2 separate regions of the Homo sapiens genome follow, and region 1 is linked to region 2. The links are contacts of gene promoters, found by promoter capture Hi-C in human tissues and cell types (Jung and others, 2019). All regions are on one chromosome and are shown on one strand. The core of a region is centred on a gene start or on the middle of the fragment in contact, and the rest is flanking DNA. Distances in the headings are between cores, read along the strand shown.

Evidence for each region. The method cuts DNA at HindIII sites, captures the fragments that hold promoters and counts their contacts. A contact is called where the count stands out against the background at its distance.
Region 1: a contact is called between a fragment that was not itself captured here and the fragment with the promoter of JAM2 in region 2, in 3 of the 25 tissues and cell types used here (dorsolateral prefrontal cortex, lymphoblastoid cells and mesenchymal stem cells).

The regions. Positions count from the first base shown.
Region 1 is chr21:25,688,330-25,691,029 of GRCh38, forward strand. It overlaps JAM2 (junctional adhesion molecule 2), which reads left to right. Exons shown (of 10, transcript NM_021219.4): 3 at 1,537-1,644. Among named protein-coding and RNA genes, the nearest start is that of ATP5PF, 45 kb to the right of the region's middle. The HindIII fragment of the contact is 7,820 bases long and covers 1-2,700 here.
Region 2 is chr21:25,637,844-25,640,543 of GRCh38, forward strand. JAM2 (junctional adhesion molecule 2) reads left to right here and starts at 1,415. Exons shown (of 10, transcript NM_021219.4): 1 at 1,415-2,045. The coding sequence starts at 1,979. RefSeq lists enhancers at 1,048-1,187, 1,925-2,425, 2,328-2,397 and a silencer at 1,408-1,597. The HindIII fragment of the contact is 5,846 bases long and covers 1-2,416 here.

The DNA of each region.
Region 1 (2,700 bases), core at 194-2,693, 51 kb after region 2:
AACAATGCAATTATTTAAGTGTAAAATTACTCTTAAGACACAGAAGACATGAGGAATAGGCTAAAAATGAGTGTGGGTGTGTGTTTAATTGTTGGAAACTCACAAAATACCGGAAGGAAACCTATCTACAACTCAAGACTCCGGAAGGTCACCACCCATTCTCCTTAATCAACAGAAAAGAACTGTGTTTCCTCAGACAGGTCCCTTAGCACACGTTTGTCTTTGTAGCATAATTGTAAACATGTCTGTAAAATGATGTCTCTTTGTAATGTAAAACCTGCTTTAAAAACTTTAGACATTCTTGAAAACAACTTTTGGTTCTTTTCTTCCTTGCCTTTCTTTTCTCTGCCCTACTTTCTATTTTCCATTACCTTTTATTCCATTTTTGTATGTCCAGCAATATGTGTGGAATGAAAAAAATTAGAAACTAAATATTCTGCATTCTTTTTTAACATTCATTTGCTTAACATTAAAATCAAAGGTATGAAAAGGATTTTAAAATAATTTCTGGTCAAAGATACTGTGCTTTTTTAGGTCAAACCATATGCCTTGTGGGGAAAAAAGTATTTCAGAAACATGGAATTGACATTCTAGAGAGCCTGGTTAAAAAAATACTTTTAAAAATATTTATAACTGGAGGTTTCCATTTGGCAACTTGAGGCAGTTCCCAGACTGGCACTGGGTTTTTTGTTTTTTTTTTTTTCTCTCAGACATCTCGTTTGGACAGTGAAAAGAAGGGGGTTCCTTTGGAGGCTCCAAGTATTAATGACACAATTGCAGTAAATTTCTTGTAATAAAAGAACTTAGCTACATTGAGGCAGTTACACTTGATGCTAAGATTTAATACTTTAATAATTATCTGGACTGAGGCAAGGTTATATAGGCAGTTGTTTGGGGGTAAAAATCAATGATTTATTAGGAGACCATATTGGATAGGTATTAATGTATTTGTAGAGAAGGTTGACAAAGAAGGGATCTGAGTGAGAATATAGCATGTTGTGGAAACTTTTCTGAGTTTCCCAGCATGTCCCTGGCTGGATTCAGTGCCTTTCTTGGGTACTAAGCATGAATCACCATCTGCATAGCTGGTATTCAGCAACACTGGGCTGAAACGCCATTATCTTAGTTGCCTCTTCTACCAGATGGTAGACTCCTTCAAGACTGACACTGGGAATAATAAGACACATAGTTAATCATAGCTGCCATTTGTTAAGTCCTTACTATGTCCAAGCCTGTGTGCTTTGCATATCTTATTGCATTTGAAGACTCACAACAACTCTGTGAAATACTAGCCCATTTACAGATGAAAACTCAAACTTGATAACCAGGGAAATAAGCACAGTGTCATACAGTTACTATGTGGAAGAGCTAGAAGGCTTCCAATTCATGGGACCTGTTGATGTAATTTATGAATGAATGAATGAATAAAACTATAAAGGAGTAATTTAAAGTTGTTTACAATTTTGTTACCTAGTTAAGTAAAATATAAATTCATGGGGACAATTAGAAAACAAGTATTTTTATTGTTGTTCCTAGAGGCTATTTTAGCCTGCAAAACCCCAAAGAAGACTGTTTCCTCCAGATTAGAGTGGAAGAAACTGGGTCGGAGTGTCTCCTTTGTCTACTATCAACAGACTCTTCAAGGTAAGCAGCTGTAGGCTTGAAGAGGTGTGAGCAAGAGAATGCCAAGTACAACCAGGATCCTTTAATTGGCAAATGAGATCGGACATGACTGATTACTGAAAATGTGTTTTTGTAAGTGTGAGATGAAAGCAACCATGTCTGAGACATAAAACACAATAGCCACAAAAGCAGAGAACAGAGGGAGGTGAAGCCCACTGAATCCCTGGACTCTTCTCTCTCAACTCAGGCATAAAGTATGCAAAATGCAATTGCTCTTATTGGCTCAGTAGATTAAACTCCGTTCCTTCCTTCCTTTCTCTTCTTTCTTTCTTTCTCTTTATTTCTTTCTTTCTCTTCCTTCCTTCCTTCCTTCCCTTTCTTGCCTTTCTTTCTTTTTTCAAGATTTTGTTCTCTTGCCCAGTCTGGAGCACAGTGGTATGATCATGGCTCACTGCAGCCTCCACCTCCAGGGCTCAAGTTATCCTCCCATCTCAGTCCCCAAGTAGGTGGGACTACAGGTGCACACCAGTATGCTCAGCTAATTTAATTTTATTTATTTATTTATTTTTTTGTAGAGATGAGGTGAGGTCTCCCTATGTTGCCCAGGCTGGTCTTGAACTCCTGGGCTCAACCCATCCTCCTGCCTCGGTCTCCAAAAGTACTGGAATTACAGGTGTGAGCCACTTGCCTGGCTATAGATAAACTCCTGAGGGAAAGGAATTAAAAAATGGTGTGGTTTGGAAATGGAAGGTTGCTTCTCAGTCATAATGCTGTCACCCTATTTCCTTAACTCCATTTGAAAGGTAGGCCACCACTGAGAAGCTCAGGGAGTTAAGACTTATGGGTGGGTTATGACAGCAACCATTATCAAGTGCTTTCTTTTCTTTTTTTTCTTTTGTTATACATTTCTTTCTACTACCTACTCTTGCCATTGAATATGTGATGAACTTATAATTTAAAATATTGATAATGATGGATGAACTGTTATAATGTCCATTTGCTTCAAAATAAACCAGTGGTTAATGATACAGATGAAACAAGATAAACCATGCATTGATTACTATTATAGCTGGTCAA
Region 2 (2,700 bases), core at 165-2,664:
TCTCCGCCCAGTTTTCTCATCTGCAAAGTGGGAATGATAACATTTCCTCTTTTATGGAGTTGTTGGGGGATTAGATATTGCGTTATTCAGACTCCATCACTGAGAAAGCATGCAATAAAAATAGCTGTTATTATTTTCTGTCCTCCTGTAACATTTACCATGTGGTATCAGGCATCTTTCCTGATAAGACTCTGTCTCCCCTCAAGACTGTGAGCTTGTTAGCAAGAAAGCCTCTATCTTGTTCATGGTTGTCCTTCAGCATCCAGCACATTGTTGCCATTTGTCAAATGCCTTGGCTGGGTGGCAAATAAATAACTTAGTCAGTTACTCACATAGGATTGCATAGAATTTTTTTAAGTATGACATTTTTGTGTATATTTTTAGGGAGGAGTAAAAGACATATAGCTGTAGCAAGAATTAGAAAAAAGAAGATGCCAACAACTTTTCTTTTTAAGCATCAAATCCTTCTCATTACTGCCCAGAAAAACTGGCATAAGCTGTTGTTAAATCTGTGCCCCTTCTCCTCGGTTGACTGGAGTACGAGTTTTAACATTTTGCCATTTTGACTTTCCTTTCTGGGTCCCCTGGGTCCTCTCCTCCCACCCCCTCCCTGGGTACTAAGTTTTCATCACTGTCACCACGGCAACAGCAAGGATGCCTCATTCCTCACAGTTCTGCACAGCTAAACTCTGGTCGCCTTTGTCCACTGAGCTAGCTGAATTCTTTTTAAATACACCACTAAATCAACTATCTGCTGTACAGAACTTCATCCATTATTCAACCTTTAAAAAAAAACAAAAACAAAAACAAACAAAAAAACAAAAGAAAAAAACTGATGTATACTAATTTCTTCTCCTGGGAATGGCCTTTTTCCAGACCTGCCAATACTCTTGAATACACCATACATTTTTGGTCCCTAGGAACAAATATAAAAATTGCCAGTGTACGTGCGTCCAATGTAAGTGTGGTGCAATTTTAAAGCACGCAACAGAGCATTCATAATGGGTTTCCCTTTTAAAAGCACAGTAGACCAAAAATAAACCTGACAAAGGGCAGCTGTAGAGTTTTAACACGTGGAAAACTCCACAAGCAGCAGTTATGTAACTTGAAAGAAACATGATAAATATTTCACACCATTAGATGAACTTCCAACTCTGACACTGAAAAAAAAGCAAAGAACAAGAACGCGAGACAAATGCACCTCAAATCTCCAAGGAGCAAAAAGCTTAAACTGAGAAGGGACCAAGGCTGTACTAAAATCTGAGACCTGACTTCCAGCACGAGTCTTGATTGCTTTTTTTTTTCTCGAGTTCGAGGCGGAGCCCGCGAACCCCATCTCCTCAGAGCGCCACCCCCTCAGCTTCGCCCGTTGGGCAGAATTTTCCAAATATCTCCACCCCTAGGCTGAAAAGCCAGAAAGAAGTTTTGAGCCAACGAGGGGAAGAAAGGAGTTGGGGCAAAACAGGAGGCGTTTCCCTACCCGCATACATCCCCGTCCCCGAGACACCCAATCCCCCCACCCCCAGCCTGCCCGCGCCTCCCGCCCCCAGCTCCTCGCCCTGGGGACAGCTGGCAGCCCCGCGCGGACCAGACACAAAGCCGATCAATCCCGGAGGCGTGGGGGCGGAGGGACGACCCGCCGGGGCTTTCCCGGGCGCTGCTCTCCTCCTGCTGCCCCCTCGCTAGGACCCGGCGGACGCCTCGTCTGGTTTTCACGCCCTCTAGCCCCTACCCCCACACCCCCAAAACAGAACAGACCCCCATCCCTGGGCTGGAGGACCCGCCTCTTGGCAGCCAGCTGAGAAGGCGCCCCGGGGAGGGGGAAACTGACATCCCATCTAGAGCCGTCCCTCCTCTTCCTCCCCTCCCGACTCTCTGCTCCTTTCCCGCCCCAGAAGTTCAAGGGCCCCCGGCCTCCTGCGCTCCTGCCGCCGGGACCCTCGACCTCCTCAGAGCAGCCGGCTGCCGCCCCGGGAAGATGGCGAGGAGGAGCCGCCACCGCCTCCTCCTGCTGCTGCTGCGCTACCTGGTGGTCGCCCTGGGCTGTAAGTTGCTCGGGTTCCTCTACCCTTCCTGCCTGGACCAGCCTGCCCCCACCCTCCAGCCCCCCACGGGGCGCTGGCTGACAGTGTCTGGGCGGCTCTGGGCCGAGGTCGCCGCGGGGCGTCTGACCTTGCGCCCAGGCGAGCGGGAAACCCAGGGTGCCCGCGAGCGGACGCTGGGAGCAAGGGAGCGCGAGGTCGTGGGTTTCTTGTGAATTGCGTCTGATTTTGTCAGTTCTAGATACAGAAAATTAAGGGTTCCCACTAGCAGGTTCTCATCTGTTTGCAAAGTTGGGGTAAGTTTTCAGACAGAGGGACGTGATTCGAATGCAAAACTCACTACCCACTGGTAAGATGCTAAGACCCCAAGAAAGATGGCATCACTGGGAGGCGGGCGCCGGCCACACTTTGAGTCCCCGGGGAGGGGGCAGCGTCCGCGTGGTCTGGGCTCTGTAGCGTCCCAGCTGAGCCGGCGATATGCAGCGCACTTGTGGGGCGGAGGTGGAGGGAATTCGTGGCTGCTGAGCCAGAATTACTTTTATCCTCTCCACCTGCACATCTACATTCACTTAGAGAAGTCTGGTCTGGGGACTCTAGCCAGCTGCTCTGTCCTCAGGGGACATCCAACGGGACGATTGTTAGAAAGATTCAGAAGCCA